2 separate regions of the Homo sapiens genome follow, and region 2 is linked to region 1. Evidence: promoter capture Hi-C in 16 types of primary human blood cells and fetal thymus (Javierre and others, 2016). All regions are on one chromosome and are shown on one strand. Each heading gives the region's core, a stretch centred on a gene start or on the middle of the fragment in contact. The rest is flanking DNA. Distances are from core to core; before and after follow the strand shown. Region 1 holds the start of THEM6 (thioesterase superfamily member 6). Region 2 overlaps LY6E-DT (LY6E divergent transcript).

The links. Contacts are between HindIII fragments. The CHiCAGO score rates a contact against its expected background, and 5 or more counts as called.
Region 2: a contact is called between a fragment that was not itself captured here and the fragment with the promoter of THEM6 in region 1, in 2 of 17 cell types (total CD8 T cells and total CD4 T cells). The highest score is 7.1, in total CD8 T cells.

Annotation. Positions count from the first base shown.
Region 1 is chr8:142,722,349-142,728,472 of GRCh38, forward strand. THEM6 (thioesterase superfamily member 6) reads left to right here and starts at 4,875. Exons shown (of 2, transcript NM_016647.3): 1 at 4,875-5,511. The coding sequence starts at 4,999. LNCOC1 (lncRNA associated with ovarian cancer 1) reads right to left here and starts at 4,625. Exons shown (of 3, transcript NR_038925.1): 1 at 4,374-4,625. RefSeq lists an enhancer at 4,381-4,600 and silencers at 4,631-5,070, 5,371-5,620. The HindIII fragment of the contact is 9,584 bases long and covers 1-6,124 here.
Region 2 is chr8:142,985,964-142,992,087 of GRCh38, forward strand. The region is part of intron 1 of LY6E-DT (LY6E divergent transcript); the gene reads right to left. Among named protein-coding and RNA genes, the nearest start is that of LY6E-DT, 29 kb to the right of the region's middle. RefSeq lists an enhancer at 2,773-3,274. The HindIII fragment of the contact is 2,620 bases long and covers 1,312-3,931 here.

The DNA of each region.
Region 1 (6,124 bases), core at 3,625-6,124:
CTGACCTAGGACTCCCACAATTGTAGAAGCCTTTCTTCCTATATGTATAGGAGAGGTTCAGGCCAGCCCTGGATGTCCTAATTCAGAATCTGGAGTCCATCCAATGGCCAGTGGTTACTTTCAAAGCAATGAGACCCAGTAGCCCAGGGAAGGCCAAGCTGACTTAGGGCAGTGGTGGCCACCAGCCTCCTGGTCAGAGAGGCCTCCCAACTCACATGAGGCCAACCCCTTCAGGTTGACACTCCTCACCAGGTCTGGAATGTGTTAGAAATAAAAGAGCACCACTGGCTGGGGAAGCCTAACTTTATAGCAGGCCCTGCTGCTAGACACCCTCGACTGAACCTTAAAGGTGTGTTAGACCTTGAATCCTGCTGCCCTGGTTCCCTCGCCCACTTCAGAGACACAAACACACTTGTGTGGAGACTTTAGAGCAGACCTATTCTAGACAAATGGACCTGCAGGACTCCCCCTTAGAAAATACAGATAAAGAATTATTTACATCTGGGAACAGCTTTGTAGAAAATGGCATCCAAAAGACAAGCTATGCTGCTGTTGGCTTGAACCACATTGTAGAAGCAAAAGCCCTTGCCCCAAGCACTTCCACTCATGAAGCAGAGCTCAAAGCCCTAGTCATGGCTCTTTAACTAAGGGAAGGAAAATACTTAATGTATATCCTGCCTCTAAGTATGGATTCCTAGTGCTCCATGTTCATGCAGCTGTCTGGAAAGAGAGGAGATTGTGGACTCCTAGGAGCTCCCCCATAAAACATAAAAAAGTGATTCTGTCCCTTCTTGAGGCAGTTCAGCTCCCTGCCCAGATAGCTGTCATGCACCATGAAGGGCCCCAGCAGGCAGTTCTTTAACCAGCCGAGGAGACAGCTGAGCTGGTGAAGCTGCCAAACAGGTGGCCCAGACAGAGCGGCTTGGCCCCTTGGCTCCTGTAACCCATGTTCCTACCATAGGAAGGAGGGGCACTGGGAAAGGGACTGCTCATTCCATCCTAGGAAGCTGGGACAGAATGAATCTGCCCAACCCACTCCTCCTGTTGCTAGCCGCTTCCTAGCCACTTTCTTCTAGACGAAGATTTAAATCAGGTGGTAAAATACATCATTAACTTGGGACAAGTTCAGCAGGCCATCTTGCAATATGATAATAAGATGTGACCTCAGCCGGGTCATGGAGTTTCAGATCATTTCCCTGCTAGCCCAGGTGCACAGGTCCTACTCAAGACATGGCGAAAAGGAAGCCCAGAGGCTTAGTTCACTGAGAAATGAAAGGGTCCATACCAGGTTTCCTTGGCTACTCCATCAGCTGTACAGTTGGAAGGACTTGTCTCTAGAATAAAACCTTTTGCTTCTCCTGATGGACGACAGGCCTGCTTGGAGAAAACAGTCTACTCCCGTAAACCTATAGAGGACCTCAAGTATTTGTTCAAGAAGCTGCCTCTGGAAGACAGCAATAGTTAAGTAACATCCTTATATAAATGATATATACCAGGGGATATGCAGACTATCTTCAGGACCCTGGCTTGATACCCCCAACTGCACAATTCATAACCTGAACCTCTCCATTCTCAATGACACCAGGGGATATGCAGACTATCTTCAGGACCCTGGCTTGCTACCCACCAACTGCACAATTCATAACCTAAATCTCTCCATTCTCAATGACACCAGGGGACATTCGAATTTGGGCTCCTCTTGGAATTGTTTTCCCTCGAGGCCACGCTAATGACCTCCTCAACCACCCTGCTTGCCTAGCTCTTTCCCCCTGCATGGCTCTGTGGGCTTGGACACCCCAAGCCCAGGCCAAGGAAGGGCCAGGTCTGGCACCCAGAAGTCCCCCACTTGACCTTGACTCCTTCAAGTCCCCCAATAAACTGCCAGTGAACCACCACAAGCTGCCCAAATCCATTGCGTTAGACTGATGCAACTGAGTGATGGGGAAGGTGTGGGTCCCTCCAGCTTTCGTGGGTGCTAAGACTGCTGGGTGTCTGGCACTGCTCTGGCCCTGGGACACAGCAGTTAGGAGGCCAACCAGGCCCTGGCCTTCTGGCTTCAGAGTCCAAGAGGGACAGAAGTATTCCTTGCTTATGTATTCCCTGTGTAAGATTGCAGCAAGGCTATGCACCCTGGGAGAGGTTCGCTGTGCAAGGAGAGCCCTGGGGATCTTGCCCAGTCTCTGGGCCCAGGAAGCGGAAGATGGAAGAGGAGGGAACAGCATGTGGGTGGGAGGGGAGCTGGGAGAGCAGAAGTTGGGAATGAATGGGCAGGGGCAGGAGCAGAGGAGGTCTGGAGGGTGGGTAGAGACCTTGGAAGCTCCAACTGGTTTCTCATTCATCCATCTTCACCGGTATCTCCAGGGCTAAGCCTCCAGCTCTGGGTCCCTCCCCTGGCAGGAGAGGACACAGTGGTGTAAACCAAAAATGAAATTCTAAGCACCCCCACCATCTGAATGCACCCCTGCTCTTGACCAAGGGCAGTCCAGGGTTAACCTGAAACACTAGTTCAGACCACGACAGGAAATGGGTGTTGGATATGCCTCACTGTACCCTCCTCCCTTTGGATTTCAGGCCCAGCTGACCAGCAGTAACATCAACACACCCCTTAAAGACTGAGAGAACAGACTCTTTAAGTCTGATGAGAAACATTTACAATCTATTCTCTCTGAAGCCTGCTACCTGGAGGCTTCATCTGATCATGAAACACTGGTCTCCACGACCCCTTATCTTAACCAGACATTCCTTTCTATTAATGCTAAGTCTTTAAAAAATAACTTTTTTTTTTTTTTTTTTTTTGGAGAAGTGAGGTCTCTCTATGTTGCCCAAGCTGGTATCTAACTCCTGGGCTCAAATGGTCCTCAGCCTCCCCATGGCAAGGATTATAGAAATGGCCCACCATGCCCGGTCAACTTAACTCTTTCAATCAATTGCCAATCAGAAAATCTTTGAATCTGCCTATGACCTAGAAGTCCCTCTGTCACTTCCAGTTGTCCCCACCTTTCTGGACCAAACCAATGTCCATCCTGCAAGTATTCATTGATGTCTTATGTCTCCCTAAAATTTGTAAAACCCAGTTGCAGGCTGACCACTCTGGGTACAAGTTCTCAGGATCTTCTGAGGCCGTGTGACAGGCCACAGTCACTTAGATTTGGCTCAGAATAAATCTCTTCAAACATTGCACAGTGTTTCACTCTTTTTGTTGGCAAGGGGACAACATGGGTGACCAGGAGGCTGCATTCTTTGAGCAATGGCCAACAGGCTCAACGGCTATGTCCTCAGTCCCTTCAGCCCAAAAGGCCACCCCTCCCTGGGGCAGAGGGCTCAGAGCCCAGCTACGACAAGGTGACACTTCAGGGACAAGTGTGAGCAATGCTAGGGTGTTGGGAATAGGCCCCCAAAATCTGGCCATAAACAAAATCTCTGCAGCACTGTAACATGTTCATGATGGCCATGATGCCCACGCTGGGAGGTTGTGGGTTTACCGGAATAAGGGCAAGGAACACCTGGCCCACCCAGGGCAGAAAACCGCTTAAAGGCGTTCTTAAACCACAAACAATAGCATGAGCCATCTGTGACTTAAGGACATGCCCCTGCTGCAGATAACTAGCCAAACCCACCCCTTTATTTTGGCCCATCCCTTTGTTTCCCTAAGGGGTACTTTTAATCTATAATCTGTAGAAACTGTGCTTATCACTGGCTTGCTGTGAATAAACACGTGGGTAAATCTCTGTTGGAGGCTCTCAGCTCTGAAGGCTGTGAGACGCCTGATTTCCCACTCCACACCTCTATATTTCTGTGTGTATCTTTAATTCCTCTAGCACCGCTGGGTTAGGGTCTCCAGGACCGAGCTGGTCTCGGCACTGGGGGAGCTGCCCTGATAGGTAGTGAGCTCCCTGTCCCTGGGGCTATCAAGCAGAGCCAGGTGCCGCCCCAGGGAGCTCCTTCTTTGAGGGCGGTCCAGAACCCTGGAACCCCAGCCCAGGCCCAGGCCTGAATCCGGAGCTTGTTTAACCCAGCAATTCCGGGACCCCATCCCCGGTCGCTGGCATCCGCTGTCATTCGAGAGCCTGGGGCTGACGGGGAGAGCTGGTCCGGCCTTCTCTGGGCCGCCTTTCCTCCCCAGCCTCGTCAGGAAGGGGCACAGGACAGCCGAGCTGTGCGACAGCCCGCTGGGCCTGCGCCCCAGGGCCTCCGGCGACACTTGGAGTCCGCAGCTGAGTCACTGACTCTCACCCGGGCTCCCCCGCTTCCGCCCGGCCGTGATTTGCTCCGGTTTCAAAAGGGAGGAAGGGCGGGAATGCTCGGGAAGAGCCTGGGGTTGGCAGGACCTTTAGGGGGTGGAATGAATGTCGTGAGGGCGAGTAAGGAGGTACCGGCTGGGGCTGAAAATGCGCACGGGGACCATGAGCGTGATTCGCCCTGAGCCGCTGCGAACGCCCTGCGAGCTGGGGTGGCCCTGGAGGTCCTGGAGCAGAAGCTAGGTTCCCGCAGAGTCCGCTGCAGCGCCGCTGGCGATCGGGCTGGGTCCCATTTTCCACGAAAAGTCCCGCGGCTTCGGCCGCGGAGGTGCTGGAGCCTTTGCGCTCAGACGAAGGGCCGAACGGCCAGGGCCAGGCCGCGTCTTCAGAGCCTGGCGAGGGTCTCGCGCTGCTGGGAAGGCGGAGACGCCGGGGCGCGCGTGCACCCTCGCGCCTGCAGCGCCGCGCACGGCCGCCAGGTGCCGCTGTGGCGCTCAGCGCGCCGCCCGCCCCGCCCCAGGGAACGCGAAAGTGGCGCGGGCCTGGACGGCGGGACGGACCACGTAGGGCGCTGAGAAGGTCGCGCCACGGTGGGCGGGGCTCCGGGCCCCTCCCCCTCGGCCGCCCTCGCGCTGTGGTTCGCTCCGGGCGCGCTGCGCTCGTGAGTTCCCAGGAGGCCTGGCGGGCACCGTAACCAGCGCCGCGGACACCGGCACCGGCGCCACGGACTCCGCAGGACCCCGCGCCCGCCGCCGCCGCTATGCTGGGGCTGCTGGTGGCGTTGCTGGCCCTGGGGCTCGCTGTCTTTGCGCTGCTGGACGTCTGGTACCTGGTGCGCCTTCCGTGCGCCGTGCTGCGCGCGCGCCTGCTGCAGCCGCGCGTCCGTGACCTGCTAGCTGAGCAGCGCTTCCCGGGCCGCGTGCTGCCCTCGGACTTGGACCTGCTGCTGCACATGAACAACGCGCGCTACCTGCGCGAGGCCGACTTTGCGCGCGTCGCGCACCTGACCCGCTGCGGGGTGCTCGGGGCGCTGAGGGAGTTGCGGGCGCACACGGTGCTGGCGGCCTCGTGCGCGCGCCACCGCCGCTCGCTGCGCCTGCTGGAGCCCTTCGAGGTGCGCACCCGCCTGCTGGGCTGGGACGACCGCGCGTTCTACCTGGAGGCGCGCTTTGTCAGCCTGCGGGACGGCTTCGTGTGCGCGCTGCTGCGCTTCCGGCAGCACCTGCTGGGCACCTCACCCGAGCGCGTCGTGCAGCACCTGTGCCAGCGCAGGGTGAGCGGCCCCCGCCCCTGGCCCCGGAGCACGGCCTTTGTGGGACCTCCGGGGGCTCCTCCTAGTCCCTGGCCCCCTCCCCTAGGGAAGGCCCGCTGCCTGCACCTCTTTCGGATACTGCTGGAGTCCTGCCTCTTACCGCTCCCGCCCCTCCCTCTCTACCGGGGGCATTCCTCACTGATGCCTTTGTTCGTGGGGGTTCCTAGGGTCCCCGAATCAACTCTTCATAGTCGGGCTTAGCGTGCTTCCCTCCTGCCATTTCTTAACCTGGCCCCTCACGGTTTCGTGTTCACCCCTCTCCTCTCTCCTGGTACTCTGTTCTGTGGCTGGAGTGTTGACCTCTCTGGTCCTTGGTCCTGAATATAGGTTGGAGAGGTGATCAGTTAGAAGAGGTTCCTAGGAGTTCCCGAGGACCTGAGCCCCCCTTTCACACAGCTTAGAGCTGAAGGGCTGGGTTCTGGTCACCTGGGTTTGGGGTTGAGGTATTGAGCCGAGTAGCTGAAAGCCTTCTGGCCTTTCTGCAGTTGGAGAGAGGAGGGCCATGCACCTCCCAGGGCTCGCTCCTCCCAGCAGGGCAGAACCGCCCCTGCAGCATGGCACCTGGGGCCCTGGG
Region 2 (6,124 bases), core at 1,372-3,871, 260 kb after region 1:
TGTGACCCAGAGCTCAAAATCACCCAAATTAGCCAATCCACAGGGAGCCCCAGAAACCCAGCCACCCCACCTGCTGTCCACACACCAGCCACCCGGCAGCCCCAGCTGTCTGCTACCCTGTCCCCGGGTGCCTCATGCAGCCCTGCCTGGACGCCTTCCTCGTTTGGAGCTGTAAGTGACAGAGTGCTCTGCTTTTCATCTCTGGAGTGTCAGTGTGCCGTGCCCTACCTCAGAAGAACTTTCAGATCCTATATAATGGGTGTCCAGCCTGGCCTCCAGCCCCACCCCCAAGAGGGCTAGGCAGGGTGTCCTTCTGCCGTTGCCCAGGGTTGATCTGGGGCAAGGGGCCGGTGGCCAGTGCTGGTTCGTCATCTTGCCATCTATTAAACATATTCTTAGGCATTATTTTGTTGCTTTTGACTCTGTTACATGTAGAATTCATTGTTATTATTTCAATTTCTATGATAACTGGTTGTTGCCAGTACATAAAAGCAATTTTATATGTTCAATCACTTACTCAAAGCATCTTATTGGTTCTGTAGGTTATCAGATGAATGAAGCTTTTGGATCTTCTCGATGGGCATCCCTGTCTTCTGCAGGGAGGGGAGAATGTCAGCACTTCTGGCCTACCGTGCACAATCTCTACTGCATCTGCCTGCCTTCATCTGCCATGAGGATCCCCAAATGCAGGTTGAGGGGTAGCAGTGAGACAGGCATCCCTGACTTTTTCGCAGCTTTAATGCTGATCACTAATATTTCATCAATTAATATGTTATCTGTCCTTTTTGAAAAAGTAGGTGTGATTTGTAGGTGCATTATTTAAATTCCATATTTTATTTTACTTTATTTTTTTGAGACAGAATCTCACTCTGTCGCCCAGGCTGGAATGCAGTGGCGTGATCTCGGCTCACTGGAACCTCTGCCTCCCAGGTTCAAGCGATTGTCCTGCCTCAGCCTCCCGAGTAGCTGGGACTGAAGGCATGTGCTTCCACGCCCGGCTAATTTTTGTATTCTTGTATTTTTAGTAGTGATGGGTTTCATCATGTTGGCCAGGCTGGTCTCAAATTCCTGACTTCAAGTGATCTGCCCACCTTGGCCTCTCAAAGTGCTGGGATTACAGGCGTGAGCCACCACACCCGGCCCCCTTTTATTTTAAATAGAAGATTTTATGAGAAATGACTGCTAAATTTCGTCAAGTACTTTTTTCACTAATTACAACATAATTACATGATTTGTGTACTTTAGTGTACTGATGTAATGTATTATATTCTGCTTCCTAATATCAAGTCACTGTTACATGTATGCAATCAAAGCTTGACTATGGTGTGCTGTTCCTTAATAAATGACTGTGTACAAATTTATGATATTTTATTTGGATTTTTGCGTCCATTTTACAAAATAAATTGGAATATTTTTCTCATACTATATCAAAATTTGATACGAAGTTACATTAGCTATATAATATGAATTGGAAAAATTTTCACCTTTTTCTATTTTCTGGAATATTTTTTAAAATACTAGAAGAACTTGTTCCTTACCAATGAGGAAGAAGTCAGCTTTAAAACCATTTGGTGTTGGCACATTTTGCACTAACAAATGTTAAATGGACTTGCCAATTTCTTCCTTTTTTGATTTACCCAAGTTTTCCACTTATTCTGGTAATGTATTTCCTCTCAATTTTCACATTTCTTGCCATAAAATTATACATATGATATAATTCACTTAATCATTTTATTTTTTATAGTCATGTCTTTGTTGAAATATGTTCCGACGTCTTTGATACCCCTCCTTTCTAAAGGCAGAATCAGCCTTAGAGGCTCACACCCCACACATGGAATGTGGCAGAGTGACACTGTGTGACTTCAGACATGAGGCTGCAAAGAACACTGCAGCCTCCGCTGTGCTCTCTGGGATCCCTGCGTGGAGGAAGAGGCCACCCATGAGGACACTCAGCGAAGACGTGCAGAGATGACCACGTGCCAAGAATCCAAGGCCTCCCGCCAAAGGGCAGCATCTGCCTGCCGGCAGCACAGTGCACCATCTAGGAGATGGGTCCTCCAGCCCTAGCCGAGCCTTCGGACCACTTCACCCCAGACAACATCTAGCCTCACGCAGCCGGAACCACCTGTGGCGAAGGCTAAAATGACTCCATCTTGGATGCTGACCCGCCATGTGGACTTCCGATGAACCCTAGTTCTGGGTCCTTAGGTCAAAACAACCTTAATGTTATTGTAAACACAAAATCCTGCCCTTAAGCGAGTTACAGGCTGCGGTGCAGGTGGCATTCTTGCCTTCTCCTGAGGGTGGACCAGCAGGCGGCATTCTTGCTTCTTCCTGAGGGGTAGGCCAGTTGTCTTACACATCCTTCTGAAGCTCCCGCTCCCTTTCCCTCTGCTACCTAAGCCCTGGGTCCGCGGGTAGCAATGCATGGATCTCGCGGCCGCCCGCACCGTGGCTTCTGCTCCCATCGCACTGTTGAATGTTTCTTTCTGAGAAACAGGATTTGTCGGCCTTTTTCTTCAGCCTCTCAGCTCCCTCAGCCTTTGTGGGTAAGTGGCATAGACCTGCTCGCCACAGAGCGCCACCCAGCAGGCTTTTCTGAACAACCCACAGAAACTGCGATCGTAAATGCTTTTTGACGTTGTAAACCTCTAAGTTTCAGAGCAATTCTTTTAATGTGACAATAGATAACTAATGCACCAGTATTGTTTTATTTTCTCTCTCCCATTTATTTTCAGCCAGCCAGAAAAAAGCAGTCTGTTTGTCGAGCTGATCCTGTAAATCTGATGTTAGTAAAAACGGGGACCCTGCCTCCCTACTGAGACCAACCCCCATCCCCATCCTGTCCACACCCTGCACAGCTACGGCAGTGAGTTTCAATCTACGGCGGGCTTTGGAAATACTCACAGTTAAATGCCAACAATGACCACCTGTTTCCTCAGGTTGGTTTAGGAGACCGTGAAACCCTCTACTCACCTCCAATTCCCAATTAATCACACTCATGGCCGCTTGCTGTTTCTACGAACGAAAAGCCTGCATTCCAGCAGATGTGAGCGTCTCCAGAATCTCCGCTTGAGTTGCCCCAGAAACACCTAGAGCCCAGTCTCCACGCCTGCGGGGGAGCCACACTCCCCGGGCTGCTGCGGCCCCCAGGGTGCCACCTCCCTCTGCAACAGCCTTTAACAGCTCTGCAAGTTCTGTGGGGCTGTCCCACGGAGAGGTGAGGTCTGAGAAGGGAGTGGAGGCACAGGGCTCCTGCGGCCACGTCAGAAACGCCCTGCAGCTCCCACCTGACATCTTCGGAGGCTCCACGAGAGGAGACCAGCCCCATGCGGAAAAGCCCAGCACCCTGTGAGCGCCACTCTGCAGACACCATGTGTGGCGTCCAGGCAACAGCCCCGCCAGAGCTCCAGCCTCATGGGTGTCCCATCTTGGACTCACAGCCCAGTGACTTCTGAACACACTCATATGACAGACTCAGGAAAGAATTGCCCCAAAGACCCCTCCCCGAATTCCTCACCCTAAAATATGACCAAAATAAGATGGCTGTTTTCAGCTGTAAGTTGGGGATGTGTCGCACGCCGACAGAGACAGGAGCGCCCTCCTTCCAAACCATAAACCTAGCATCGCTCGACAGCACCGAAGCCACTTCCAGACACTCTGCTGAAAGGAGTTTGGGAAACGTGTTTGGCTTTCTAGTCTCTGCGGGAGAGCAAGGTGTGCCCACAGAGGGCAGAATGGATGTAGTGGGGCCGCCTCTGGACATCCCAGCCTCTGAGTCTCAACCAAGCCAGCACGCCGTCGCGGGCGAACCCATGCAGGGCTCCTTGCCGTCTCTGAGCTGGGACGTCCACAGCGCTAAGTGACTGAACGCGACATGACATGTGCACAGGAGGGCTCTGGAATGGCCACCTGTGTGTCTAATTCAAAAAGCTTTCATTTTACACACCCCTGACACAGTGCACCAAGAGCCTGGCTCCCAGGCTCACAGCACGTCCATGCATGGGGGGAGCGTGTGTACACATGCATGCATGTGATGTGCTGTGGTGTGCGTGGTGTGCCCGTGCACAAATGTGTGTGTCAGTGTGTGGGTATGATGGGCGTGCACGTTTATGTATGGTGTGTATGTGGGTGTGAGGTAGGTGTGCATGTGTGTGGTGTGTGTGGGGGTGTGAGGTAGGTGTGCATGTGTGTGGTGTGTGGGTGTGTGGTAGGTGTGCATCTGTGTGGTGTGGGTGTGTGGGTGTGATAGGTGTGCATATGTGTGGGGGTGTGTGGTAGGTGTGCATGTGTGTGGTGTGTGGGTGTGGTAGGTGTGCATGTGTGTGGTGTGTGGGTGTGGTAGGTGTGCGTGTGTGTGGGTGTGGTAGGTGTGCATGTGTGTGGTGTGTGTAGGTGTGTGGTAGGTGTGCATGTGTGTGGTGTGTGTGTGTGGTAGGTGTGCATGTGTGTGGTGTGAATGTGTGGGTGTGTGGTAGGTGTGCATGTGTGTGGTGTGTGTGGGTGTGGTAGGTGTGCATGTGTGTGGTGTGTGTGTGGTAGGTGTGCATGTGTGTGGTGTGTAGGTGTGTGGTAGGGGTGCATGTGTGTGGGGGTGTGGTAGGTGTGCATGTGTGTGCAATGTGGGTGTATGGGTGTGTGGTAGGTGTGCGTGTGTGTGTTTGGTAGGTGTGCATTTGTGTTGTGTGTCTATGCGTTTGGTAGGTATGCATTTGTGGTGTGTGTGTGTGTGTGTGTGTGTGTGTGTGTAAGGATGGGTTCACAGTGCACTGGGCCTGGCCTCGTGAAACCCGTGTTTGGAATATGTGGTTCCAGTCTCATAACCTACATGGGCAACCCCACATTGTCCCGCCCCTGGCTACCGCACAAAGAGAGGTTTCTCCCGCTGCGCCTCAGGGGTGCTACTCAGCGCTTTTTCTGTCCAGGAAAGCCTCCCCAGCATCCACCCCACCACTCACAGCTTCCACCCACCGCCCACAGCCTCCAACCACAGCCTCCACCCACCACCCACAGCCTCTATCCACCACCCACAGTCTCCACCCATGGCCTCTAACCACCCACAGGCTCTACCCACCACCAACAGCCTCCACCCACCACCCAGTCTCCACCCACAGCCTCCACCCACCACCCATAGCCTCCACCCAGCCTCCACCCAGTCTCCACCCACAGCCTCCACCCACCACCCACAGCCTCCACCCACAGCCTCCACCCACCACCCACAGCCTCCACCCACCACCCACAGCCTCCACCCACCACCCACAGCCTCCCTAGCCTCCACCCACAGCCTCCACCCACAGCAGCAGGTGAGCACAGGCGGGCATTCTTCCCAACCCCAGGAAACTCCAAAGAGCAGATTTGCCTTCTAGAGGAAAGGAACCCCAAGACTCCAGTTGGGGAGACTTGCTGGGCAGGCCTGGGGCCCCTGAGCAGGCCCAAGGCAGGGAGCAGCTAAGGCCTCCAAGAACAAAGCAGTGACCCTGGGCGCTCCCTGAGCAACTGGAAGCACCGGGTGTTCTGACAGCCCCCAGGAGCTGAGGAGAGGGGCAGGGCCCCAGGCCGACCATAGCCTCCACATTCATAGCACTCTTTGCTGGCCCAACCTTCCAAGATGTTTATCTTTCCATAAACAAGAAAAGAACACCTCAACTGCAACTTTAGCCTGCAACACCCGGTCCCCAAAGCTAGTCTGTTAGAATGCACACCGACAAGCTGGATTCCAAGCGGACCTTCCCAGGTGCAGAACAAAGGCCAGGTGAGATTCCTCTGCCTACCTGAGACCAGAGGTCAGCAGGATTAACTCTTCCTTTGCCTCCCCTCATCCCCAGCAATGTTTGCCCACGGATTACTGTTGGGCACTCGTTAATGAAACCAATTTGCCTAAACGCCTGCCCCCTCTTCCTGCGCTCCTTCTCCCGGTTAAAGAAACGTGTTTATACTGAGCCCCCTACAGACCTCCTCAGAGGACACGGGCCACAGAAGCTTCTGGGCCCACATTTTTCCCGACCATGCCCTCAAGCTGTGGCTCAACAAGCTTCAGCTGATGGAGACCCCTGCTTCAGTCTCCCAGGTTGGCCCTGGGTAAAGGATGAGAAACCCCATCAGACGTGAGAGGGATCAGACATCG